Regions from separate parts of the Homo sapiens genome. Here all the other regions are linked to region 1. The links are contacts of gene promoters, found by promoter capture Hi-C in blood cells and fetal thymus (Javierre and others, 2016). All regions are on one chromosome and are shown on one strand. Each heading gives the region's core, a stretch centred on a gene start or on the middle of the fragment in contact. The rest is flanking DNA. Distances are from core to core; before and after follow the strand shown.

Evidence for each region. Contacts are between HindIII fragments. The CHiCAGO score rates a contact against its expected background, and 5 or more counts as called.
Region 2: a contact is called between a fragment that was not itself captured here and the fragment with the promoter of EIF2B3 in region 1, in 1 of 17 cell types (total CD8 T cells). The highest score is 5.9, in total CD8 T cells.
Region 3: a fragment that was not itself captured here is called in contact with the fragment with the promoter of EIF2B3 in region 1 in 3 of 17 cell types (naive CD4 T cells, activated CD4 T cells and non-activated CD4 T cells); the score reaches 6.9 in naive CD4 T cells.
Region 4: a contact is called between a fragment that was not itself captured here and the fragment with the promoter of EIF2B3 in region 1, in 5 of 17 cell types (naive CD4 T cells, naive CD8 T cells, M1 macrophages and 2 more). The highest score is 8.5, in naive CD4 T cells.
Region 5: a contact is called between a fragment that was not itself captured here and the fragment with the promoter of EIF2B3 in region 1, in 6 of 17 cell types (M1 macrophages, naive CD4 T cells, activated CD4 T cells and 3 more). The highest score is 7.0, in M1 macrophages.
Region 6: a contact is called between a fragment that was not itself captured here and the fragment with the promoter of EIF2B3 in region 1, in 2 of 17 cell types (naive CD8 T cells and erythroblasts). The highest score is 6.2, in naive CD8 T cells.
Region 7: a fragment that was not itself captured here is called in contact with the fragment with the promoter of EIF2B3 in region 1 in 1 of 17 cell types (activated CD4 T cells); the score reaches 5.5 in activated CD4 T cells.

The regions. Positions count from the first base shown.
Region 1 is chr1:44,984,910-44,988,786 of GRCh38, forward strand. It overlaps EIF2B3 (eukaryotic translation initiation factor 2B subunit gamma), which reads right to left and starts at 1,686. Exons shown (of 12, transcript NM_020365.5): 1 at 1,584-1,686. It also overlaps the pseudogene PPIAP35. RefSeq lists enhancers at 1,460-1,729, 1,688-2,269, 1,980-2,029 and a silencer at 1,820-1,909. The HindIII fragment of the contact is 3,433 bases long and covers 900-3,877 here.
Region 2 is chr1:45,466,897-45,470,773 of GRCh38, forward strand. All of the region lies in intron 1 of TESK2 (testis associated actin remodelling kinase 2), which reads right to left. Among named protein-coding and RNA genes, the nearest start is that of TESK2, 22 kb to the right of the region's middle. The HindIII fragment of the contact is 239 bases long and covers 1,996-2,234 here.
Region 3 is chr1:45,361,498-45,365,374 of GRCh38, forward strand. The region is part of intron 4 of TESK2 (testis associated actin remodelling kinase 2); the gene reads right to left. Among named protein-coding and RNA genes, the nearest start is that of TOE1, 23 kb to the left of the region's middle. The HindIII fragment of the contact is 2,207 bases long and covers 1,050-3,256 here.
Region 4 is chr1:45,334,911-45,338,787 of GRCh38, forward strand. All of the region lies in intron 1 of MUTYH (mutY DNA glycosylase), which reads right to left. Among named protein-coding and RNA genes, the nearest start is that of MUTYH, 3.1 kb to the right of the region's middle. The HindIII fragment of the contact is 5,969 bases long and covers 1-3,877 here.
Region 5 is chr1:45,317,251-45,321,127 of GRCh38, forward strand. No RefSeq gene overlaps it. Among named protein-coding and RNA genes, the nearest start is that of HPDL, 7.7 kb to the right of the region's middle. The HindIII fragment of the contact is 5,394 bases long and covers 1-3,877 here.
Region 6 is chr1:45,289,004-45,292,880 of GRCh38, forward strand. No RefSeq gene overlaps it. Among named protein-coding and RNA genes, the nearest start is that of LINC01144, 13 kb to the right of the region's middle. The HindIII fragment of the contact is 4,556 bases long and covers 1-3,877 here.
Region 7 is chr1:44,682,552-44,686,428 of GRCh38, forward strand. The region is part of intron 1 of ARMH1 (armadillo like helical domain containing 1); the gene reads left to right. Among named protein-coding and RNA genes, the nearest start is that of ARMH1, 9.8 kb to the left of the region's middle. The HindIII fragment of the contact is 751 bases long and covers 1,738-2,488 here.

The sequences.
Region 1 (3,877 bases), core at 436-2,935:
CATTCTCCTGCCTCAGCCTCCCGAGTAGCTGGGACTACAGGCACCCGCCACCGCGCCCGGCTAATTTTTTGTATTTTTAGTAGAGACGGGGTTTCACCTTGTTAGCCAGGATGGTCTCGATCTCCTGACCTCATGATCCACCCGCCTCGGCCTCCCAAAGTGCTGGGATTACAGGCGTGAGCCACCGCGCCCGGCCAATAATGTCCATCTTATGAGAAGCACTATATTTGTATTTGCTTTACTAGACAGAGACTAGATTATGGAAAACCTTCGTACTAATTGAGCCATGCTGCTTCATAATTCTGGTCTCTGCACTGCTACTGTTGCTTCCTAGTCTGCCTTTCTCTTGTGTCTAGTAATCACCTATTAAACTTTGAAGACAGCTCAAGAATCCTCTTGCCTACAAAGCCATTCCTAACCGTTCCCACCCCTCCAGAAGTGACTCCTTTTCCCGAAGTGCTTCCATTCTGCCATGTGCAGATTCTCTTAGCCTTTACGGGTTTCATTGCACGTATGTGTTTAAATGTCTACTTAAGTGTAACATTAATGTCTCTTAAATGTCTACATAAGAGTGTAAGAGTGACTTTCTTGGACTGTGTGTGCATCATCACTGTATTCCCAGTCAGATGCCAGAAATCAAAGTGGAATGAGGACCTGTGAACTTCACAACTGTATAAGAGTCAAACTCAAACATGTGCATAAGGGCATTAGAACCCAGGTCACTAGGAACTGAGGTTCCAGCTCTCAAGGAGGCCCTGGGTGAAGAAAGGCAACCTAGGAAGCATGAATAGTAATCATGAACATAACTAATCATGCTACCAGGCAGACTGTCAAATGCTCATGTCACTGCCACGACTATGGCTGACGGGAATCATGGCAACGAGTCTCGCTGCCTCCCAAGCTTTGGAGAGGGTGTTCACCGCATCTCAGACTTGCCTGCATCATAGCACTCATGCCTTTTCCAGTTGTAAATAGATAAGAAAACTGTATCAGAATTGGTCTGTCATTCCACGTGTGCTGCCTGAAGGCAGAGACCTCACTGCTCCTCCCTATATTTCACTGCCCTGCATCCAAACAACTAAAGGCAGGCTGAACAAATGAATGAAGGGCTGAGGCTGAAAGAGTGCAGGCACAGTGCTAAAGGCGTCTGGTACCGGTCTGGTGCTCGCTCACTCGCTGTGACTTTAAGCAGAACCCTCCCCGAAACTTCGTTTCTTTCTTTTCTTTTCTTTTTTTTTTTTTTTTTGAAACGGAGAGTCTCACTATGTTGCCCAGGCTGGAGTGCAGTGGCGCGAATTAGGCTCACTGCAACCTCCACCTCCTGGGTTCAAACGATTCTCCTGCCTCAGACTCTCGAGTAGCTGAGATTAGAAACTTAGTTCCTCCATCTGTTGCATAAGGTGGTTGGCTCGGATTCTCATCCCCAACCTCCCTTCTACTTCGGACACAGCTACACCGGGTCGAGCAGGGAGTCGAGCTGACAACTTCGGGGCTCAGCACCCTCTCCTACCCCTTCGGGTCCACCTCGGCCCAGTTCGACATGCCCGCCTCCCTCAGATGAGTGGCCCCACCGCACTGCTCACCCGGGTCAGCCAGCTTGTGTGCGGCCTGGCAGGGCAGAAGTCACAGCTATAACTCAGCTCCCGGCACGCCGCAACCGCTCCCAGCGATCTCCACGCCGCCTCTGACTGACAGCCCAATGGCGCAGGCGCGCGATGGCCGAGAAACTCGATGGAACGCGCAGAGCAGACCCATGGAGAAGAGAAGACCGCCGAGCGATGGATGACGGAGGGGAAGCACACTCAGCGGAGAGGAGGGAAGGCGGGCCGGAGGGGGCGGGGCCACCGAGGAGCATTCGACACGTGTGTCCCTCTGTCCATTAACACATTACCAACGCCTTTTGAGTATTCCTCCCAGTGCAGGGTGCCGGGAACCCAGACGGAACAACTCAGCCTCTTTCCTCAGGGAGTAAGTCTAAGACCTGGCTTCGAGTACATTCGGTGAAAGAAAGCTCATTGGGAGCCGCAATTTTGGCTAGCTAGTGAAAAAAATCACCGAATGCCCCTGCAGGGGTTGCCAGGACTTCCTATTTGTTTTTGTTGTTGTTGTTGTTGTTGTTTGTTTTTTGTTTTTTTTGAGACGGAGTCTCGCTCTGCGTCGCCCAGGCTGGAGTGCAGTGGCGCGATCTCGGCTCACTGCAAGCTCGGCCTCCCGGGTTCACGCCATTTTCCTCCCTCAGCCTCCCGAGGAGCTGGGACTACAGGCGCCTGCCACCATGCCCGGCTAATTTTTTTGTATTTTTAGTAGAGACGGGGGTTTCACTGTGTTAGCCAGGATGGTCTCGATCTCCTGACCTCGTGATCCGCCCGCCTCGGCCTCCCAAAGTGCTGGGATTACAGGCGTGAGCCACCGCGCCCGGCCCGGGACTTCCTATTTGTAACAGGGCCACTCACGTTAACTTTAGCCATCAAAACTGGGGGCGGCTGGGCATGGTGGCTCATGCCTGTAATCTCCGCAATTTGGGAAGCCGAGGTGGGAGGATTGCTTGAAACCGGGCGTTCAAGACCAGCCTGTGCGAGAGAGCCTCCAGTCTCTACAAAAGTAAAAATTAGCTGGGCATGGTAGTGTGTGCCTGTAGTCCCAGCTGCTCAGGAGGCTGAAACGGGAGGATCGCTTGAGCCCAGGAGTTCGAGGCTGCAGTGAGCTATGATCGGGCCACTGCACTCCTCCTGCCTAGACGACAGAGTGAGACCCTGTTTTTTTTTTTTAATTTAGTTTTTATTTCATAATCATAAACTTAACTCAGCAATCCAGTTAGGCATGGAAAGGAACAAGGAAAACATGGAACCCAAAGGGAACTGCAGCAAGAGCACAAAGATAAGATACTGCGAGCAGGCCGGGCGTGGTGGCTCACGTCTGTAATCCTAGCACTTTGGGAGGCCGAGGCAGGCAGATTGCCTGAGCTCAGGAGTTCAAGATCAGCCTGGGCAACATGGTGAAACCCCGTCTCTACTAAAATACAAAAAAAAAAAAAAAAAGAAAGAAAGAAAGAAAGAAAAAATTAGCCAGGCATGGCGGCGTGCGCCTGTAGTCCCAGCTACTCGGGAGGCTGAGGAAAGAGAATTGCTTGAACCCGGGAAGTGGAGGTTGCAGTGAGCCGAGATCGTGCCACTGCACTTCAGCCTGGGAGAGGGCGACAGGGTGAGACAGCGTCTCAAAAAAAAAAAAAAAAAAAAATACTGCAAGCAAATGGGGTGAAGGGGTGCTCTTCTGAGCTACAAAAGGAATGGTCTGGTGGTTAAGATAAAACAAAAGCCAAACTTGTTAGAGTTGTCCACAGTCAGCAATGGTGATCTTCTTGCTGGTCTTGCCATTCTCGGACCCAAAGTGCCCCATGGCCTCCACAATATTCATGCCTTCTTTCACCTTGCCAAAGACCACAGGATTGCCATCCAGCCACTCAGTCTTGGCAGTGCAGATGAAACACTGGGAACCATTTGTGTTGGGTCCAGCATTTGCCATGGACAAGATGCCAGGATGTGTATGCTTTAGGACGAAGCTCTCGTCATCAAATTTCTCCCCGCAGGTGTACTTGCCACCAGTGCCATTATGGCATGTGAAGTCACCACCCTGACACATAAACCCTGGAATAATTCTGTGAAAGCAGGAACCTTTATAACCAAATCCTTTCTCTACATTGCTCAGAGCACGAAAGTTTTCTGCTGCCTTTGGAACCTTGTCTGCAAACGGCTCGAAGGACACGCGGCCCAAGGGCTTGCCGTCGACAGCGATGTCGAACACGGTGGGGTTAACCATGGCTGATCGTACAGAGCTCCTGGCGTCGGTGGCTGCATTTGCAAAGCCGAGACCCTGCTTT
Region 2 (3,877 bases), core at 865-3,364, 480 kb after region 1:
CACAAAGTTATTGATTAAATGGATAGTACCTAATAAACAATAAGCATTCAACTCCTGTTTGTTATTATAATTATTAAAGATATTACATATTTATAGTGAACATCTAAAAGCATGAACTAAAAATGAAGACACTAAATTCATAATAGTATTTGCCTCAGGGGAAAGAAAGTGAAATGACAAGAAAGGGAAACAAAAGAGACATCCACTATACTAATAAAATTTTGTTTCCTTAACGTGATGAAGTGGCCAAGTGGTTAAGGTGATGGACTGCCAATAATATTTTTGTTTCCTTCTATTGAAAAACAAACCTGTGGCAAATAACACAAAATGATATATCTGTTAATTTTATCATTTTTCATTAATTAATATTTGTTAATTCTGGGTGTTATTTATTATACTGTACTCTTTTCTGCATTTAAATTTTTTTAATTTCAAAAAAGTTTAACAGGTTTGTTGTTTTTTTTTTAAGATGCAGTCTCGCTCTGTCACCCAGACTGGAGTACAGTGGTGCGATCATGGCTCACCACAACCTCCGCCTCCCAGGTTCAAGGGATTCCCCTGCCTCAGCCTCCCTAGAGGCACGCGCCACCACACCCGGCTAATTTTTGTATTTTTAGTAGAAATGGGGTTTCACCATGTTGGTCAGGCTGGTCTCAAACTCCTGACCTCATGATCCGCCCGCCTTGGCCTCCCAAAGTTCTGAGATTACAGGCATGAGCCACTGTGCTCGGCCTTCACAGTTTTTTTTTTTTTTAAGTCTATTGCTAATGCAACAGCTATGTAGCATGCTTAAGCCAAAACATTGATAACAATTTGGCAAATAAACAGCATGCCAGTGTGCAAGCCAAGCCTCTAGACTCTCAAACTTTTATTCTGCTAAATTTCCACCGTAGTTTTTAGTCCTAGGAATATATATATCTTAGGCTAAAACTTCAAAATCATGGGTGAATTTTTGGATGGCCTAACTTATTTAAGTCCACAAACTTAAAATATTGGGTGGGATCACTGGCTCACGTCTGTAATCCCCCAACAATTTTAGAGGCTCAGGCAGGATGACTGCTTGAGCCCAGGAGTTCAAGATCAGCCTGGGCAACATAGTGAAATCCCCGTCTCTACAAAAAATACAAAAATTAGCCCGGCATGGTGGTGCACACCTGTAGTCCTAGCTACTCAGGAGGCCAAGGTGGGAGGATTGCTGGAGCCCAGGAGGTCAAAGCTGCAGTGAGCCGTGTTTGGGCTACTGCATTCCAGCCTGGGCAATAGAGCAAACGTCTGTCTCAAAAAAAAAAAAAAAATTAGAGAGCTCATAACAAACACTGATATTTAGTGTAGAGACCCTATCACATGCTAAAGTAATACTAATGATTAGATAGCTGAGATGAGTGGTAAGAAGTAGAGTCCTCTCCATGGGAGTAAGAACTGTATTAATCCATTTTAGAGAAGTGCTGAGCAAGAGAAAACTTCCAAACCATGCCTTCTGCTCCCTTGGCGAGCAAACTAAATGACTATATTTTAAATGAAATCAACCAAGCTATAAATGGCTGTCAATTTATTCTGACAAATTTTAATAACTAATAAAAGGCAGCAAAGATATACACGTACAAACCCTAAAACCAAGCCCAATTTTATAAAATGTGGGAATGATTACTTTTAAAATAAGAAAATACATTATTTCAAATATATGACATTTTATGATGGTTTCTGCCTCTGGATTACCTCTCTTGGTCTTATATATTGAGTATTATCTATTGATACTAATAGTGTCCCTCAAAGTATTAATATACTTTTTTTGGAACAGAGATAACTACAGTTACCATCACATTACCAGAAAAACATAAGGCGTTATTGTCACAATGATGGGGGTGTGGGATGAGCACTACTGGTATTTTAGTGGGCAGGTGCTAGGGAAGCTAAATGTCCTACAATGCACAAAACAAAGAATTGTCCTGCCCTAAATGCCAATAATGCCCTGGTTGAGAAACACTGTGTTAGAGAAGCTTAATCATTTTTGTTCTTAGACTAGGAAATAGCATTTAGCAGTCTTTCAAAAATGCCCAAATTATGTGGCTTATAAGGACACAAGTAATTTTTTAGTAACTATGTTCTCAACTTAAATATTATAAACTTGGAAGTTCAAAACTTTTTCTTTTCTACATAGGTAGGTTTGTTTTTTCAAATATTAATTTCATTTATATAGGAGTTGATTTGTTTTTCACAAAGAAAATACAACTAAAAGCTTTGATTGGGGAAAGTAATTTGAAAAGCTACCAATTAAAAAAAAGTTAGTGAACTAAATAGCCTATCTTCAATATTATATTTTTTAATCTTTCCAAAGTAAGAATTCCAAAAATCATTTTTCAGAAATATCAAGGAAATTTTTAGGACTCTCAGACCACACTCCTGTCTGAAATATGCTTCTGGAAATAATAACTGCAGCCACTATTTACTACAGACCACGCATTCTACCAAGGGTTTTGTATGTTATCTGTAATCTTTGTGACAACTCTGCAAAGCATGTATTATCATCTCTAATTTAAAGAAAAAGAAATCAAAATCCTGAGAGATTATGACTTCTCCAAATATAAACAACTAGTGAGACTCAGGATTCAAATCTAGTAGTTTCAAACCTAAGCACTTCCCATTATAACATGTCTCCTTCAGAAATACATCAAATTTCTGTGAAAAATGATTTGTGGGTTAGCTACGTAGAAAGCTACTACTATTCCCCAACTTCCCTCAACAGGGTGAGTAAAAAGTGTACAAATGATGGCTCTACCAGTCTCTGAGGCAAAAGCCTTCCTTCAGTCATTCAATCACATTCTACAGACAGAAAAATCAGTATTGATTTAAACAGGCTTTCTAAAGAATGGATGCCATGCTGACAGGGAAAATATGCCAAATCCCAATCATTCTCTATTTTCCATTCTAATGCACAGTATCTGCTGTTTCTCACCCCTTCATTTCAGCAAAACAAAGTAGATACAACTTCACAATAGTCCAGACACAAATTTAATCCTGCAATGCACTAGAAAGCTATCTACCAACAGGTAGCTGGATTTGGCAGTGTCAGCCAGCAATCAAAAATTGTCAATGTCCATCCAAATATGGAATCATATGTGCACAAAGTTGGTAATATTATCCCACAAAGTCATCAAAAAAGATTTCTGAGAATTCAGTGGACTTTCACACCCTAGATATAAAGAGTAGAAAAAGACTGCAAACATAATATACCAATATCCTCATCACATTGTTTTCTTTCTATAATCATAAAAAGTCCCCACCTAATCCAGAATAAATTAAGGATTCATTATGAGTAATATGTAGCCCCGAAAACTGGCCACTTATTTTCTAGAATGGGAATACTGACAAGTACATTAGCTGTGTATCAATACCAAACACATGGCAAATCTACATGACAAGTCTGCTCAGCTGTTATTCTTTCTATGGACCAACACAGCTAATACAGACACGTTTCAGGATGACTATCTAATTAAAAATAAAAGCAATACTGCTGAGCTTACCTTCCTGCTGTGAAATAATGAGTTGCAGTTTCCATTCAAACCAAAGGCAATCTAGCATAAAAACTGGCATCCCTTATCTAATTAACCACGAATATACACAATGGCATATATTAGTACCAGACAGATCAAAAGCCAGTTCTTAAAAGTGTATTAGCTCTTCTAAATAAGCATCATATTTGCTGTGTAACTTCAATCCACCAGGCCCTAAGCCATGACATAAAACAGAAACTTAGGGTGAAAGTTATAAAGGCAGTTAGAGATGAACTAGTTTAATCTTTAGACCAATTCAGGAATCCCCTCTATTAGCTGACTCAAATGTTAATTGGGTAGCCACTAGGTGCAAGGCTTTAGGACAG
Region 3 (3,877 bases), core at 903-3,402, 380 kb after region 1:
AACTTTACCTATACCAAAACTTGCCTCACTTCCTCACGGTCTAATAAAATAACAGAGTTTCTTCCATTTCATTTGTGTTTGATACTTGGTTTCATTAAATATATACAGCCTTTTCCTAGAAGGCACTCAATAACTTTCTAAAGTGTATTGGTAATTCAACTATATTATGTAAATAAACCTTTATTACTAAAATGCAAGAAATCATATGCCAACATCTTTTTTAAAATCACCAAAGGCACAGAGAAGTGGACACTCAGTTCTCCACTCAGGAATATCAATTCAGGTTATTTCTACAAACATTTATTGAGCACTCCTCCCCCTACTGCCACTTCCATATGAGAGTAAGAACTTGTCTCTTGGCCAGGCACAGTGGCTCTCGCCTGTAATCCCAGCACTTTGAGAAGCTGATGTGGGAGGATCGCTTGAGGCCAGGAGCTCAAGACCAGCCTGGGCAACATAGCAAGACCCCCACTCAAAAAAAAGATGGTAAATTATATGTTATATGTATTTTACCACGATAGAGAATGTGTGTACAAGTGTCCCCATAGTTCTTTAGTCCCTTCCACTATGTAAGGACACAACAAAAAGACAGGCATTTATGAACCATGAAGTAGGCCCTCACCAAACACTGAATCTGCCTGTGCCTAGATCTTAGATTGCCCAGCCTCCAGAAGTGTGAGAAATAAATTTTTGTTGTTTATAAGCTACCCAGTCTATGATATATTCTTATAGCAGCATAAATGGACTAAGACAACTGCCTAGGCTAAAGAGTATAGGTTCTTCCCACATATCCCTATAGGGTCTGGTAGGTACCAATTCAGGCACAGACAAGCACATAAACATATCCATACAGAGAATATTCTGGACTGGCTCTAGGGAATATGTACCTCTCTCTGAGGTAAATGCACCCAGGACTCCAGTTCCCAATTCTTGCTGATTCTAGTCAGCTACAGTAGTTTCAACCAATTATAACTATTCAGAACAATAAGACAAAATGGTAGTTTTAAAAAAATTTGAATTACCAGTGTACTGATACCTGCAACCAAATAAGCTTATCTCTGAACAGTGGTTCAAAGGCATTCAGAGAAGGTCTGGAGAAAATATCAACTCTAAGAATTATTATTCCTTTTTGAAAAATCTACCCAACTGGCCAGGAGTTAGGGCATTTACCCAAAGAAGATAACTGTGCTGTCATCTAACTAGCAGAGATAATTTGCTACCATCTAATTAGCAACATGGTACTGAGAAAGATTCATCCATCCTTCTGTTCACCTACCCAAACACTGAAAACCTACAATGTGAAACACAAAGATAAATGGGGCCAGTCTCTGCCCACAGAGACTAGTCTAGCCTAGATGGTCTAGTAGGGATGCCATACAATCAACTAACACTTTTTTTTTTTCACACAGGAGAATAACATGATCAGATATGCTACATAGAAATATTCTAACAGTAGTATAAAAATTGTATGAAAAGGTCAGGAACTGAGGCTGGGAGAAGAGTTAGGATAACCAAGGCCTGAATAAGACAATGGCAGCAAGAATGGAAAGGAGGTTATTATCTCAGAGACATTAGAGGTAGAATCAGCAAGATTTGGTGTTTGTTCAAAGGCAAGGAGTAATTAAAGAGATAAGGTCTAAATACAAAGTCAGTCCAGTTTGGTGTTTAGCTCATAGTACACAACTCATTCTCCCATTTAACAGTATCTTTTTAAAATTTATTTTCATTTTTTACAACAGGTAGAACCCACTATCAATAACTTATCATTCTCACGCCTCCCTTAGGTTATTCCATTAGCTTTCTAACCTGTTTTCTTGCCCCCTTTTGCATCTTGAAAAGATTTAGCCCTCATTCCAATCCATTTTCCACAATATAGCCAAGACAATCTTTCTGAAATGCCAACCTGAAGCCACTCTCCTGTTAAAATTATTCAGTGATGTGCTATTACTTGTAGGATAAAACCCACAATCCTTAGAAAGGCACACAAAGCCTTTCACTCCTGCTTATAAAAGTCTGACTCCTGCTCACCTGCACATTTGTACACATTGCTGGTCCCTTTACCTCTAATATCCTTCCCCTTTCCCCACCTAGGCCTGGCTAATATTCACTCATTGTTGAGGATTTAATTCCATTTCATGGTAACCCATAGGCAGGGTTGGGGATAAGAAAGACAGTCTATGCAAAAGGAACACAAAGATAACAAAGCACAGAGATTAGTAATTATTCTTTTTTTTTTTTCTGTATAAGTAGGGGAGAAAGTATGAAGCTAAAAAGTTAAGATGGGCAGTATAATATAGTGGTGACTGCAGTTAGGCTGGCTAGGATTGAATCTCATCTCAGACTATAATAGTTGTAGAGCCCTGAGTTGGTTACTCAGTTTGTTTAATACACATCTATAAAATGGGAATAATAATAGTGCCTAACCCACAGAGTTGTTGTGAAGATTCAGTAAGTTGATACATGTAAAATGCTAAGAATAATGTCAAGGAAAGTGCTCAATATGTCAGTTATGACTATTTCTATTATTATTATTATATTTGTTATTAGTGCAGAAGTTCTGGAATACCAAGATGAAGCATCTACAGTTAATTCAGCAGACCACAGGGGCCACTGAAGGTTTATAGGTAAAGGTATAATATGATCTAATGGGGGTTGAATTACATCCCCCCAAAAGATGCATGCAAGTCCTAAACCCTGGTAAGGTAACTATAAATGTGACCTTATTTGGAAATAGGGTCTTTGCCAATGTAATCAAGTTAAGATGAGGTCACATTGGAGTAGGGCAGGCCCTTAATCCAATACGACTGGAATCCTTATAAAAAGAGTGGCAAGAGATATAGGCACACAGGGAAAATGTCATGTTAAGATAGAGGCAGAAATTGGACTGAGACATCTACAAGCCAAAGAACACCAAAAACCTACCAGAAGCTAGGAAAAGGCAAGAAGGATCTTCCCGTAGAGCCTTCAGAGAGAACAAGGCCCTACCAACACTTTGATTTTGGACTTCCAGCCTTCAGAACTCTGAGATAATAAGTTTCTGCTATGTCACCCACATTGTAGTGCTTTGCTATGGCAGCTCTAAGAAACTAATACATGACCCAAACTGCATTTTAGAAAGATCATTCTGGTAGCAGGATAGAGAAGGAATTAGAGGCAGTTTTGGAGGGTACTGCAACAGCCAGATGAGAGGTGACCAAACATCTAACTAACAGTGCTATTTATGGGCAAGAAAAAGTTGGCTATAGTCAGAATATAAAGCTTTTTAGCAACTGAGTGATAGATATGAGAAATAAGGAAAAAGAGTCAAAGACATCTCAGAGATTCCAAATTGAAAGGTTCAGACAGCAATGGAAAAAGATTTCAGAATCTTAAATGACTCAATGTGCCATCAGTAAGTCAGAAACCTGTCAGAAACCAGTATCAATGTCAAACAGCCAAATTAGTGGCTTGTTGGCACTCTACTCTTTGGAGGGGCTCTTTGCAGAAAAGGGTTTGGGCCCCGACCTAGTTTTCACTGTAGCCCAACAATACTTTTGTGCTGGCCACCGTATGTTTGTTGGTAGGCTCCAAACACAAAGGCTAGCCGACATCCCATCCTGCTGGCTTGGGTTAAGGAAGAAAAGAAAGCTTTGTTACTGCTCTGGGTAATTCCAGAACAGACATCCCAAGAGTGCCCTGTGGGAGGCTTGTGCTCCAAAGAAGCCTCCTGTTCTCAGCTCGAGGATCCACAGCCACTACAAGCGTACATCCGTATATCTGCCAAGGACTGAATTTGCCTACCGCTCCAGGAGGTTCACCAGGGCCTGCCTGACTGAAACAGTCAGTAGTAATGAGCTGACTCAAAAAGAAAAAGGGAACACTAGTTCTAGCCACAGAG
Region 4 (3,877 bases), core at 506-3,005, 350 kb after region 1:
CATGGTTACACTGAAACAGCCTGTAGTAGTCATTAAGTCCAAAACCTTCATTTTATCCTAGAAGAAACCAAGGATCAGAGGGACAAAAGATCTGTCTGAGAACAGATGGCAAATCAGTGGGAGAACAGAGATTAGCTATTTTTATTCCTAATCTAGTAAACCATAGGTGGCTGACCATCAACAATGAGAAAATGTGCCTGGTTGATTTTCACTGCTCCCTAACTGTTATAATGGCCGCCTTTTCTCTAACAGCTAAAATTAGTTGATATTTTGTGAGTGCCTACTCTATGTCAGACCCCATGAAGAGCTTTACCGGATCTCTCAATCTCCTGGTGACTCTATGAGGTATGTACTAGTATCACCTCCACCTTAGTTATAAGGAAATTGAGGTTTATGGAGATTAAGCGACTTGTTCTTTCAAATCCACGACCAGCATTCTTATACTGTGATAAAATGCAGTCCCTGCTAAGCCTCTGTATCAAACTCTCCCCCCAAACCTTTGACTTTACCACCTCATTTTCATCAAAAGAGCTTGCCTCCTCCTTCAGAAAAAAAAAAACCAACTTCAAATCTACCTCCATTTGCACTGTCTTACCCTCCTCCTCTTCAGGGTCCTGCTCCTCCAATCCCGTCTAACTGTTGGAACTCAGAAACTAATACCCCAGGCCAGGCACGGTGGCTCATGCCTGTAATCCCAACACTGCGGGAGGCTAAGGCAGGCAGATCACTTGAGGCCAGGAGTTCGAGACCAGCCTGGCCAACATGGCGAAACCCCATCTCTACTAAAAATCCAAAAAAATTAGCCAGACGTGCTCGCTTGAACCCAGGAGGCAGAGCTTGCAGTGAGCTGAGATCATGCCACTGCACAGCCTGGGCAACAAAGACAGAGCAAGACTCTGTCTCAAAAAAAAAGAAAAGAAAAGAAACCAATACCCCAAAATATGGCCCTCTGACATGCTGAACTCAAGAAGCCGCAAGGTCTCTCTGATCCTTCCACCCCAGACTCTCCCAAAGCCAGGATAAAGTTGTTCTCTGGAACTCTTTATCTGCCTAAAGTCCAAACTCACTAAAAAGAATACTTGTTTTTTCTTCCCCTCCCAATAAGACTAACATGTAACCACACCTGAACAAACCCTTTCACAGGTATTGTGTACCTCAGGATCACTCAAATTCCAAAGAGAACTATTAACAAGTCAACCTCTGTCCCCATTCCATTCTCTCTAGTAATCCTTTATTGCCCTTCAACAGAATCTCCTTCTGGCCAAAGTTCGGTTTATTTAAAAACAAATAGAGCTGGACATGCTGGCTCAGGCCTGTAATCCCAGCACTTTGGGAGGCCAAGGCAGGAGGATTACTTGAGCCCAGGAGTTCGAGATTAGGCTTGCAACATAGCAAGACCCCGTCTCTACAAAAACAGAAAAACAGAATTTCTCTTCTACCCCTTGTCAGGCCTCTGAGCCCAAGCTAAGCCATCATATCCTCAGTAACCTGCACTTATACATCCAGATGGCCTGAAGCAACTGAAGATCTACAAAAGAAGTGAAAATAGCCTTAACTGATCACATTCCACCACTGTGATTTGTTTCTGCCCCACGCTAACTGATCAATGTACTTGGTAATCTCCCCCCCACCCTTAAGAAGGTTCTTTATAATCTCCCCACCCTTGAGAATGTACTTTGTGAGATCCACCCCCTGCCCCCAAAACATTGCTCTTAACTCCAATGCCTATCCCAAAACCTATAAGAACTAATGATAATTCCACCACCCTTTGCTGACTCCTTTTTTTCAGACTCAGCCTGTCTGCACCCAGGTGAAATAAACAGCCTTGTTGCTCAGACAAAGCCTGTTTGGTGGTCTCTTCACATGGACACACGTGAGACACCCCTCCCATAATCTGTTTTGCCAGATGGTATATAAACTCACGAACTCTGTAGGGAGATGGGTAATCACTTTATGGTTCTCCCAATGTGCATGTTAATAAATTTGTATGCCTTTTCTCCAGTTAACCTGCCTTTTGTGAGCTGATTTTTCAGCAGATCTTCAGAGGGCAAAGGGAAAGATTTTCCCCTTGGCTCGTAACACAATCAAATCCCACCCTCCTTCCCTTCATAGCCAAACTTCCTTCACCAAACCTGCTTACTTCCACATTCATTCTACAATCTATTCTCCAAAGAGCAAAGGAATCTTTTCCAGATCACGTCACTTCCTTCCTTATAACCTTCAATGGTTTCCCATTCTTTTTTTTTTTTTTGGGATGGGGTCTCACTCTGTCACCCAGGCTGGAGTGCAGTGGTGTGATCTTGGCTCACTGCAACCTCTGCTTCCTCGGCTCAAGCAATCCTCCCACCCCAATACCCCACCCCAACTCCAAGCAGCTGGGACCACAGGCGCACACCACCACCACATCCAGCTAATTTTTGTATTTTTGTTAGAGACAGGGTTTCACCATGTTGCCCAGGCTAGTCTCCACCTCCAGAGCTCAAGCAATCAACCCGCCTCGGCCTCCCAAAGTGCTGGGATACAGGCATGAGCCACGGCGCCTGGTGACACCCCATTATATTCTTTTATTTTCTTTCTTTTCTCTTTTTTTCTCCCTCCCTCTTTCCTTCCTTCCTTTTTTCCTTTTTCTTTCTTTTTTAAATACTGTAGGCCTTTACTATGGGTCATTAAATTCTTGAGCAAGCTGGTTGTGGTGGCTCAACACTGTAATCCTGCTACTCTGGAGGCTGAAGTGAAGAACAGCTTGAGCCCAGAAGGTCGAGGCTGCAGTGAGCTATGATTGTGCCACTGCACTCCACCCTGGGCTCAGCAAGACCTTGTCTCTTAAAGAAAAAAAAAGATTGAGCAAATATTTATAGAGCCCCCTAATATGTGCCAAGCAGTTTTAGGCACTTGGCATACTTCAGTAAATAAAACATCAAAAGTTCCTGCCCTCAGGGAGCTTATATTCTAATGGGGACAGAAAAGGAATAATGAACATAAGTAAATTCCATAAGATGTTAGGTGATAAATATTAGCATAAAAAGCAAAAATTAGACCAAGAGGGGAAAAAAAAGAGTGCCAAGGTGGGGTTTAATGTTGCAATTTTAAAGACTGTGGTCAAGGTAGACCCAAAGCATTCTAAGTGAGTGCAAAGGCCCCAAGGAGGGTGCCTGGTATGTCTGTGGTACAGTAAGTAGGTCAATGTGGTTAGAATGGAATGAGATGGGACTGAGTGGTAGAAGAGGTCAGAGAAGTAAACCAGATGAGGTGGGGAGAGGAGGGTCACAAAGTACCTTATAGGCCATTGGAGGGATTTGGCTGCCACACCCTTGCTCTTAGAAGGCAGTCCTCTTACTACAGCCTTGCAGGTCCAGTGATCCGGGCACCATCCGCCTCATCCCCTCACTATGCTCTAGCCAAGGTTGACTGAATTTAGTTGCTTAAACACCTCAAGTGTGTCTGCCCACCTTGGGGCCTCACACAATCCATTTCCTCTGTTTGGACTCTTTTATGCTTTTACCTAACACCTTATCATTTTTCAAGTCTTGACTGAAATGTCCAAATCAGGTCCCCTCATCTTATCCTATCACATATTTCTGCCTTGTAGCTCTTACCTAATGTAATTTTACATTACTTTGATTCTTTCCATCAGTGTGTACTTCCTGAATTTGACTGTAAAAAACGACTTGAGTGCAAGGACTGATTCTCTTGTTGATTGGTGTGTGTCCAAAGTCAGTGCCAGGTAAACTGTACACAATAGATACCTGTTAAATGAATTAATGGGATGGGGGATAGTCAAAAGAGTTTCCCTTTTTTAGGATAGGAGAAATCCAAAGAGTTTTTTTATTTTTGTTTTTTTTTTGTTTGTTTGTTTTGTTTTTAGAGACAGTGTGTC
Region 5 (3,877 bases), core at 488-2,987, 330 kb after region 1:
TCTACGAACACATCTGACCTCTCCCTTCCTCCCCAGGCTGCTCTTTGCCAGGCCGAGCCAGGTCCCAATTCTTCCCAGCCTCCACTCCCCCACTCTATAATCCTTCTAGCACCTCCCATCCTCACATCCAGTCCGCTTATCCGTGACTAACCCTCCCCCACCTGCCCAACAATTTCCTCTTAGAGAGGTGGCTGGAGCTGTAGGTATAGTCAAGGTTAATGCTCCTTTTTCTTTAGCCAACCTCTCCCAAATCAATTAGCATTTAGGCTTTTTTTCATCAAATATAAAAACCCAGCCCAGTTCATGGCCCATTTGGCAACAACCCTTAGACGCTTTACTGCCCTAGACCCCAAGGGGCCAGAAGGCCGTCTTATTCTCAATATACATTTTATTACCCAATCCACTCCCAACATTTAAAAAAAGCTCCAAAAATTAGATTACAGCCCTCAAAACCCACAACAAGACTTAATTAACCTTGCCTTCAAGGTGTACAATAATAGAGAAGACACAGCCAAGAGGCACCGTATTTCTGAGTTGCAATTACTTGCCTCTGCTGTGAGAGAAACCCCAGCCACATCTCCAGCGCACAAGAACTTCAAAACGCATAAACCACAGCAGCCAGATGTTCCTCCAGGACTTTCTTCCCCAGGATCTTGCTTCAAGTGCTGGAAATCTGGCCACTGAGCCTTGGAATGCCCACTACCTGGGATTCCTCCTAAGCCGTGCCCTGTCTGTGTGAACCCCCACTGGAAGTCAGACTGTCCAGCTCACATCGCTGCCACTCCTAAAGCTCCTGGAGATCAAACCCAACATTCCTTGGCTGACTCCTTCCCAGATCTCCTCGGCTTAGTGGCTGAAGATTGACACTGCCCGAGCGCCTCAGAAACCTCCAGGACCATCACAGACCCTTTGGGTAACTCTTACAGTGGTGGGTAAGTCCGTCCCCTTCTTAATCAATACAGAGGCTACCCACTCCACATTACCTTCTTTTCAAGGGCCTGTTTCCCTTGCCTCCATAACTGTTGTGGGTATTGATGGCCAGGCTTCTAAAACTCTTAAAACTCCCCAACTCTGGTGCTAACTTGGACAACATTCTTTTATGCACTTCTTTTTAGTTATCCCACCTGCCCAACTCCCTTATTAGGTCGAGACATTTTAACTAAATTAGCTGCTTCCCTGACTATTCCTGGGCTACAGCCACATCTCATTGCCTCTCTTTTCCCCAGTTCAAAGCCTCACCCCTTACTATCCCATTAAAACCTAATCACCCTTACCCCACTCAATGCCAGTATCCCATCCCACAACAGGATTTGAGGTGACTAAAGCCTGTTATCACTCACCTGTTACAGCATGGCCTTTTAAAGCCTACAAACTCTCCTTACAACTCTCCTATCCTACCTGTACAAAAACCGGACAAGTCTTACAGGTTGGTTCAGGATCTTCACCTTATTAATCAAATCGTCCTTCCCATCCATCCTATAGTGCCAAACTCATATACTCTCCTATCCTCAATACCTCCCTCCACAACCCATTATTCTGTTCTGGATCTCCAAGATGCTTTCTTTACTATTCCTTTGCACCCTTCATCCCAGCCTCTCTTTGCTTTCACTTGGACTGACCCTGACACCCATCAGCCTCAGCAACTTACCTGGGCTGTACTGCCACAAGGCTTCAGGGACAGCCCCCATTACTTCAGTCAAGCCCTTTCTCATGATTTACTTTCTTTCCATCCATCTGGTTCTCACCTTATTCAATACTTTGATGACCTTCTACTTTATAGCTCCCCCTACAAATCTTCCCAACAGGACACCCTCCTGCTCCTCCAACATCTATTCTCAAAAGGATATCGCATATCCCCTCTAAAGCCCAAATTTCTTCCTCATCCATTGCCTATCTCAGCATAATTCTCATAAAAACACATGTGCTCTCCCTGCTGATCGTGTCCAGCTAATCTTCCAAACCCCAACCCCTTCTACAAAGCAAAAACTCCTTTCCTTCCTAGGCATGGTTACGTACTTTCACCTTTGGATACCTGGTTTTGCTATCCTGACTAAACCATTATATAAACTCACAAAAGCAAACCTAGCTGACCCCATCCTAAATCCTTTCCCCCACTCCTCTTTCCATTCCTTAAAAACAGCCCTAGAAGCTGCTCCCACACTAGCTTTCCCTAACTCATCCCAACCCTTTTTCATTACACGTAGCCGAAGTGCAGGGCTGTGCGGTCAGAATTCTTACACAAGGGCCAGGACCCCACCCTGTAGCCTTTCTGTTCAAACAACTTGACCTTACTGTTTTAGGCTGGCCCCCACATTATTTCTGATACCACACCTGACCCCCGTGACTGTGTCTGTCTAATCCACTTGGCATTCACTCCATTTCCCCATATTTCCTTCTTTCCTGTTCCTCACTCTGATCACACTTGGTTTATTGATGGCAGTTCCACCAGGCCTAATTGCCACTCACCAGGAAAGGCAGGCTATGCTATAGTATCTTCCACATCTATCATTGAGGCTACCGCTCTGCCCCACTCCACTACCTCTCAACAAGCCGAACTCATTTCCTTAACTCGAGCCCTCATTCTTGCAAAAGGACTGCATGCTAATATTTATACTGACTTTAAATATGCCTTCCATACTGCACCACCATGCTGTTACATGGGCTGAAAGAGATTTCCTCTTCTCAAGGCCGCTTTATTTCCAAAGGAAGCTGGAGTCATTCACTGAAAAGGCCATCAAAGGGCCTCAGACCCCATTGCTCAAGGCAACAATTATGCTGATAAGACAGCTAAAGAAGCAGCCTGTATTCCTACTTCTGTCCCTCATGGCCAGTTTTTCTCCTCATCAGTCACTCCTACTTACTCTCCCACTGAAGTTTCCACATATCAATCCCTCCCTACTCAAGGCAAATGGTTCTTAGACCAAGGAAAATACCTCCTTCCAGCCTCACAGGCTCATTCCATTCTATCGTCCTTTTTAACCTCTTCCATGTGGGTTACAAGCCACGAGCTCGCCTCTTAGAACCTCTCATTTCCTTTAAGACATTTGCCCTGCATTTCACTCCATCCTTGGCTACCTTCCCCTTGTTCTTCGGACTCTCCTCCTAGCTGTCCTCTTGCTTGCTTATACCTGGCCCCATGAATAGCAGTGAAAGGTTATTCATAGACACTATGCGCTTTCTCATACACCATAAAAATCGAACCTCCCCCTCTACCCAGTTGCATCATCAATCCCCATTGCAACCTCTACCTCCCAGGTACAAGTGATTCTCCTGTCTCAGTCCAAGTAGCTCAGATTACAGGCATGCACCACCATGCCTGGCTGATTTTTTTGTATTAAGTAGAGATGGGGTTTACACCATGTTAGTCAGGCTGGTCACGAGTTCCTGACCTCAGGTGATCCACCCGCCTCGGCCTCCCAAAGTACTGGGATTACAGGTGTGAGCCACCACACCTGGCCAGACTACCTGTCTTTTAACTAGCTCTCTGAGCTCTGGGCAGGGCCCACACTGAATCCTGGGTTTCCAAACCGGGAGAATTATTCTGAGGCTAGACTATCTGATGTTTTTACAGTGCACTTAAAAAAAATTTTTTTTTAAAACAAAGATATTTCTAAGTGTCTAAACTACACCCTTCTTTAAAAACCCAGAGTACCCTGTGTTGCAATAATTATTATAGTCAATATATCCGGTAACACAATACAAAAGCAAGCAGCTTAAAGGCTGAGATGAACTTGTCTGTTTACACTTTTGGGGTTCTATAAGGAATAACAAGTTTCTCCCCAAAAGGGAGTCTGGCAACTTCTCCGTTTTCTTAAAGGAACCCCAGGTGATTGTAAACTATTTTAGGTCCCTCATGCAGCAGAGGGTACAAGAGAAA
Region 6 (3,877 bases), core at 366-2,865, 300 kb after region 1:
CCTCTTCAAGGGGAACTACAAACCACTGCTCAATGAAATAAAAGAGGACACAAACAAATGGAAGAACATTCCATGCTCATGGGTAGGAAGAATCAATATCGTGAAAATAGCCATACTGCCCAAGGTAATTTATAGATTCAATGCCATCCCCATCAAGCTACCACTGACTTTCTTCACAGAATTGGAAAAAACTACTTTAAAGTTCATATGGAACCAAAAAGAGCCCGCATTGCCAAGTCAATCGTAAGCCAAAAGAACAAAGCTGGAGGCATCATGCTACCTGACTTCAAACTATACTACAAGGCTACAGTAACCAAAACAGCGTGGTACTGGTACCAAAACAGAGATATAGACCAATGGAACAGAACAGAGGCCTCAGAAATAATGCCGCATATCTACAACTATCTGATCTTTGACAAACCTGAAAAAAACAAGCAATGGGGAAAGGATTCCCTATTTAATAAATGGTGCTGGGAAAACTGGCTAGCCGTATGTAGAAAGCTGAAACTGGATCCCTTCCTTACACCTTATACAAAAATTAATTCAAGATGGATTAAAGACTTAAACGTTAGACCTAAAACCATAAAAACCCTAGAAGAAAACCTAGGCATTACCATTCAGGACATAGGCATGGGCAAGGACTTCATGTCTAAAACACCAAAAGCAATGGCAACAAAAGCCAAAATTGATAAATGGGATTTAATTAAACTAAAGAGCTTCTGCACAGCAAAAGAAACTACCGGCAGAGTGAACAGGCAACCTACAGAATGGGAGAAAATTTTTGCAACCTACTCATCTGACAAAGGGCTAATATCCAGAATCTACAATGAACTCAAACAAATTTACAAGAAAAAAACAAACAACCCCATCAAAAAGTGGGCAAAGGATATGAATGGACACTTCTCAAAAGAAGACATTTATGCAGCCAAAAAACACATGAAAAAATGCTCATCATCTCTGGCCATCAGAGAAATGCAAATCAAAACCACAATGAGATACCATCTCACACCAGTTAGAATGGCGATCATTAAAAAGTCAGGAAACAACAGGTGCTGGAGAGGATGTGGAGAAATAGGAACACTTTTACACTGTTGGTGGGACTGTAAACTAGTTCAACCATTATGGAAGTCGGTGTGGCGATTCCTCAGGGATCTAGAACTAGAAATACCATTTGACCCAGCCATCCCATTACTGGGTATATACCCAAAGGATTATAAATCATGCTGCTATAAAGACACATGCACACGTATGTTTACTGCGGCACTATTCACAATAGCAAAGACTTGGAACCAACCCAAATGTCCAACAATGATAGACTGGATTAAGAAAATGTGGCACATATACACCATGGAATACTATGCAGCCATAAAAAATGATGAGTTCATGTCCTTTGCAGGGACATGGATGAAGCTGGAAACCATCATTCTCAGCAAACTATCGCAAGGACAAAAAACCAAAACTGCATGTTGTCACTCATAGGTGGGAATTGAACAATGAGAACACATGGACACAGGAAGGGGAACATCACACACCGGGGACTGTTGTGGGATGGGGGGAGGGGGGAGGGATAGCATTAGGAGCTAAACCTAATGCTAAATGACGAGTTAATGGGTGCAGCACACCAACATGGCACATGTATACATATGTAACAAACCTGCACGTTGTGCACATGTACCCTAAAATTTAAAGTATAATAATAATAAAAAAAAGAAATCAGACAAAAAATATGTGTGTATAGACATAGACATATATATATATATATATATGACTCCATTAAAAAAAAAAAGTAAGTGATCTTTGTTCTTACACCATATGGTATAATAAGCACCTTTTTTCTTCAGGAATGATTGGATGTTCATAGAAATGCCCACTTAAATTCCTAGAGGCCGGCCATGGTGGCTCACACCTATAATCCCAGCACTTTGGGAGGGAGGCCAAGGCCTGCAGATTACCTGAGGTCAGGAGTCTGAGACCAGCCTGGCCAACATAGTGAAACCCATCTCTACTAAAAACACAAAAATTAGCCGGGCGTGGTGGTGCATGCCTGTAATTCCAGCTACTCGGGAGGCTGAGGCACGAGAATTGCTTGAACCCAGGAGGCAGAGGTTGCAGTGAGCCAAGATTGCAAACTCCACTCCAGCCTGGATGACAGAGCAAGACTCTGTCTTAAAAAAAAAAAAAAAAGTTCCTGGAACTCTAGGCTGAGTCGGCAGAAAGGCGACATGTTTATTTATTAGGGATTGTAATTGGTGAGTAGTAACAGAGATCTAACTATGATGGCTTGTACAAATTTATTCTTGTACATAAGAGAATTCCAGAGGCAGGCAGTCTAAGACTGGTATGCTCTAGAAAGTCACCTAGGATTCTATTTTTGTGCTTCACCATTCTTTAAGCAGCTTCTATCTTCAAGGTTAAAATGTGGCTACTGGCACTCCAGCCATCATATCATAGTTCTGGGCAGGAAGATGAAAGTTAAAGTTAAAGTTAAAGGGCTTTTCTGGAAGCCTTACTGCTTATAGCTCATTGGCCACCCTATCTAAAAGACAGGTTAGAATGTAAAATTTTTCCTCTAGACATGTGGCCAGCAAATTTTCCCTAACTAAGAAGGGAAAAAATCAATATTAAATAGGCAATTAATCGTCTGTAGATCAGAAGAAACAAAACATGGCCTGGCATAGTGTGTGTATGTATGTGTGTGTGTGTGTGTGTGTGTGTGTATATATATATATATATATATATATATATACACAGATATATACAGAGAGAGAGAGAGAGAGTACAATGAGATTTATTATAAGGAAATGGCTCATACAGTTATGGAGGCTGCAAAGTCCCATGATCTGTTATCTGCAGGCTGGAGACCCAGGAAAGCCAGTGATATAGATTTCAGCTTTAGTCCAAAGGCCTGAGAACCAGAAGCACTGATGGTGTAAGTCCCAGTCTAAGGGCCAGAGAAGACCAACGTCTCAGCTCAAGCCATTAGGCAGCCCCAGCAAACTATTATAGCCCCATTTAATCCTCCCACCGACCCCACAAAGTCAATCATTAGCTCAATTTTATAGGTAAGAAAACTGAAACACAGAGAAGTGACATGACTTTCCCCCTCCTCCAGCTCATAAATGACAGGCTAGGGATGACAGCCCAGGTTTTCTTGACATAGAGACCCTGTGGCAACCAGGGCCCTTCCTTCCAGGGCTCTGGGCTACTCAGAGATTTGACAGAAATGTGGTGTACTCCCACTCACCTCCTCTCTCTCCCTGACCTTTGTGAGTTCTCTTGACCTCTTTCTCCGAGTACCCTAGCCCAACCCCAGGCATTGTCAATGACTCTCTGGCACAATTAGCTCTTTGCTTTCACTCAGGTAACTCAGAAATCTTCTGTGCCCTTGTAGAGATGCTCTTCCCTGAAATCCTCACATTTTAGAACCTGTATCAGCCCAACATCTCCAGCTAGTGTTAATTGGGAGGGATCTCTCCACCACTTTCCCCCTCTAGAGAGCTAGCCAGGGGCCAGGACAACTAGGCAAGCAGGCACTGCACCAGCTACCCTCACAGCAGTTCCCATGTGACATTCTATTTAATCCTCACAACAAACCTGTGAGTTAGGCATTATTATATCTTCATTTTACAGATGAGAAAACGAAGGCACCACACAGTAAAGAAACTTCCCTATGCCAGGCACAGCGGCTCACACCTGTATTCCCAACACCTTGGGAGGCCAAGGCAGGAGCATCACTTAAGCCCAGGAGTTCAAGGCTGAAGTGAGTCACAATCGCATCATTGCGCTCCAGCCTAAGCGACAGAGGAAGGCCCCTGTCTCATTAAATACATAAATAAATAAAAGAAACTTGCCTAATGCCACATAGTTAATGATACTT
Region 7 (3,877 bases), core at 863-3,362, 300 kb before region 1:
TTTGAAGCTTTATCCTCAGGTAGTAAGGAACCACTGAAGAGTTTGAAGCAGTGAAATCTGTCAGATTTGTACTTTTAAAAATCTCACATCAAAGCCTGGCCTGGTGGCTCACACCTGTAATCCCAGTACTTTGGGAGGCCGAGGCAGGAGGATTGCTTGAGCCCAGGAGTTTGACACCAGCCTGGGCAACGAAGCAAGACCCCACCTCTACAAAAAATAAACAAATATAAAAATAAAAATTAGGTGGGCATGGTGGCATGCACCTGTAGTCCCAGCTACTCAGGAGGCTGAGGTGGGAGGATCACTCGAGCCCAGGCGATTGAGGCTGCGGTAAGTTATGATTGTGCCACTGCACTCCAGCCTGGGTGACAGAGCAAGGCCCTGTCTCAAAAATAAAAATAAAAATAAAAAATCTCACATCACTGTGGAGTTTAGGCTGGGGCAAGCCCGAAGACCAGTGGAGGCTGTTGCAGTAATCCATATGCGGAACAAGGGTGTGAAACTGAAATAGCGGCAGTGGAGGTGAAGACAGACAGACTGATCTCAGGGAAATTTAGGACATGTAATTGGCAGGAGCTGGCAACAGTTCAGATGAGGGCAAGGGAGAGGAATAAGTCAAAGACAACTTTTGGCTGACTAGGAGGGTGGTGACCCAAGCACTGAAATAGGACCAACACAGGGCAAGGGGCAGGTGTGAGTTGATGAGTTCAGTTTGGGACCTGTTGACTTGAGGAGCCTGTGACACATACCAGTGAAGAGTCTGCCGGTCACTTAAGTACATAAAGAGATCTGGAGCTCAGGTGGGAGGCCCAGACTGAGGAGACGGATTTGAGAGTCGTGCGCCTATAAATGTAATTTGAAGTGATGGGGTGAATGAGGTCACCCAGGGATTACAAAGCATGAGAAGAGAACTAAGAACGGGAAAACGACCTGCAAAGGCACTATCCTGCAATGGCAACTGAGGATTCAGAGAGTCTGGAGTAGAACCAGGGGATTCTGGGGTTAGGAAAAGAGTCATTCACAATCCATCAGAGAGACCAAGCACGCTGGGACGGTGAGCTAAACCACTAAATCTGACAACAGGAGATTATTGGTGACACCTTGGAGCACAGAGGAGAACAGGATCCATGCCCTTGGCTTAGTGGGGAAAAACCTGGACTTTGGAGTTATATGCAGATCTAAGTTCAAATCCCATTCCCATCCCTATTTGAGACCTTCAATAAATGAGCAAACCCTTCTAAACCTTAGTTTCTTCATCTGAAAGTTGTGGATAATGATGACCTCCTGAGGATCTTAAGAGGATTAAAACAAAGAATTTAGGCAGGGTGCGGTGGCTCACACCTGTAATTCCAGCACTTTGGGAGGCCAAGGTGGGAAGATAGCTTGAGGCCAGGAGTTTGAGATCAGCCTAGGCAACACAGAGAGACCCCATCTCTATAAACAAAAACAACCACAGAGAGAGAGAGAGAGTGTGTGAGTGTGTGTGCGTATGGTGTGTGGATAGCTCTTAATCAACACTCAAAAAATGTCAGTTTCTTCTCCCTGCCTTCATTCCTTCTGCCTTCACCAGGAAACACAGCTAACATCACTTTTTCCTTAGCGGTCAACAAGCTTAGATACAATTTATCCCAGCAACTGACTCTTGAAATTGACACATTTTGGTCTTTTTTCCACTGTTTTCATCTTATTAATTATTTTTAAAAATGGTAGTTAATGGGTCTTTTTTTACCCTCATCAAGCTTACTATTAAAGAAAGGTTGAGATAAATAATACATGACTGGAGGCTCTTAATTAAATATACTTAATGTCTTTTATCTCCCCCTACTTCTGAAAAACCTTAGTGACATAACCCCGCTGAAGAAATATAAAAAAGCATTCAGTCACAAAAGTTCATGGAAGGAGGCAACAGGAGATGAAAGAATTCAACAAATATTTGGAAGGCAGAAGGCAGGTGCAGGGAGGCTAACCGGCTTGAAGCAGAGGAAATTGCAAGCAACTGCCAACAAGGGGAGCTTACCAACAAGAAACCAGTCAATTCAGCCAGTTTGACCTCTAAGAGGCTTAATGCTTGAAAGCACAAATTACCACTGAAGGTCAGAAATGAGGTATGGAGCCCAACCTAGGGGGATTCACTGACCTCTGTGTGCAGAGCACTTGCCTGCACTCCAGACCCTCAACCGCCAAGAAAGAAATGACTCTAAACTTTCTTGCTGCATGAAGAGGAAGGAAGTTGGACTCTGTAGGCCTCCTTGCACAGGGACCTCAGGCAGGGCTTGAAGGGCAGGAATGAGACATAGAGTTGAAAACTGATGAGTAGAGGGAAGGTCTACACACAGCATTGTGTGAGCCCTTCCCCCACCTGACTCCCAACATGCCATGGCGAGGTGTCTGTAATAGCACCCCTGCTCTCTCACCCTCCCTGGGAAAGTAGGAAAGTCTTCTCCAGAGACCCTGATATCTCTATGAGGGTGTTAAAAAAAAACAAACAAGCTTCCACTGACTGACATTTATGAATTCCCCAGTGAGAAGACTAGTTGCCTAATAAATATCCAAACACTGAAGGATACAGTGATTTAAAGAGCCCACCAAGGGCCTACTATAGTAAATTAAAAAAGACCTTCACCAAAGCATATCATTATACAACTTCAGAAAGGTTTCAAAATCATCAGGAGTGAAAAAAATAGACAAAGGCACAGGAATCAGAATGACTTCAGATTTCTCATCAGTAACAGCAACTGGGGAGGGTGAATCTGAGGGAAGCTTTTTTTTTTTTTCGAGACAGGGTCTTGCTGTGTTGCCCAGGCTGGAGTGCAGTGGCGGGATCATAGATCACTGCAGCCCCGACCTGGTCTCATTCGATCTTCCCACCTCAGCCACCTTAGCCTCCCAAGTAGCTGAAACTACAAGTGTGTGTCACTATACCTGGCTAATTTGGGGGTGAGGGGATGGAGGTCTCACTGTGTTGCCCAGGCTGGTCTCAAACTCCTGGGCTCAAGTGATCCTCCTGCCTCAGCCTCCCAACATACTGGGATTATAGGCATGAGCCACCATACCTGGCCAGATAGCTTATTTCTTTTTTTTTCTTTTTTTTTTTTGAGACAGAGTCTCACTCTGTCACCAGGCTGGAGTGCAGTGGCACAATCTCGGCTCACTGCAACCTCCACATCCTGGGTTCAAGTGATTCTCCTGCCTCAGCCTCCTGAGTAGCTGGGACTACAGGCACGCGCCACCACGCCCAGCTAATTTTTGTATTTTTAGTAGAGACGGGGTTTCACCATGTTGGCCAGGATGGTCTTGATCTCTTGACCTCGTGATCTGCCTGCCTCGGCCTCCCAAAGTGCTAGGATTACAGGCGTGAGCCACCGCGCCCGGCCCAGATAGCTTATTTCTAACGCGGAGTTATATACCCAGCCAATCCAACATGTGGTCAAAAACAATATTTTTAGACTTTCCAGGACAAAACAAGGGAGTACACAAAGAAGGAAGAAGATGTGAGAGACAGGAAATGGGCATCCGTCAGAAAAACTCGGCAAGAGGAAATCCCAGGACAACATTTGCATACTGGCCTTAGTGAGCAACCAGTCTAAACTATAGTAGAAAGAGATCTGTGGGACAGAGGTTTCCAGGGAAAAGATGGAATTAATCAGTTACAGATTGAACATTTGGAAAAATAATCACTACATATTTGGGACATTTGGAATGAAATAGCCCTTGGTACTTCAAACCAAACAATAGGAAAAAAATGACAATTATTAACTCCAGGTAAAACCAAACTGTAAGAAAAAAATGTAATAGTAGTTTGCTACTTGAAGAGTTTATTTACTTGATCAGTCATGTTAACCTGCCGGGCACAGTGGCTCACGCCTGTAATCCCAGC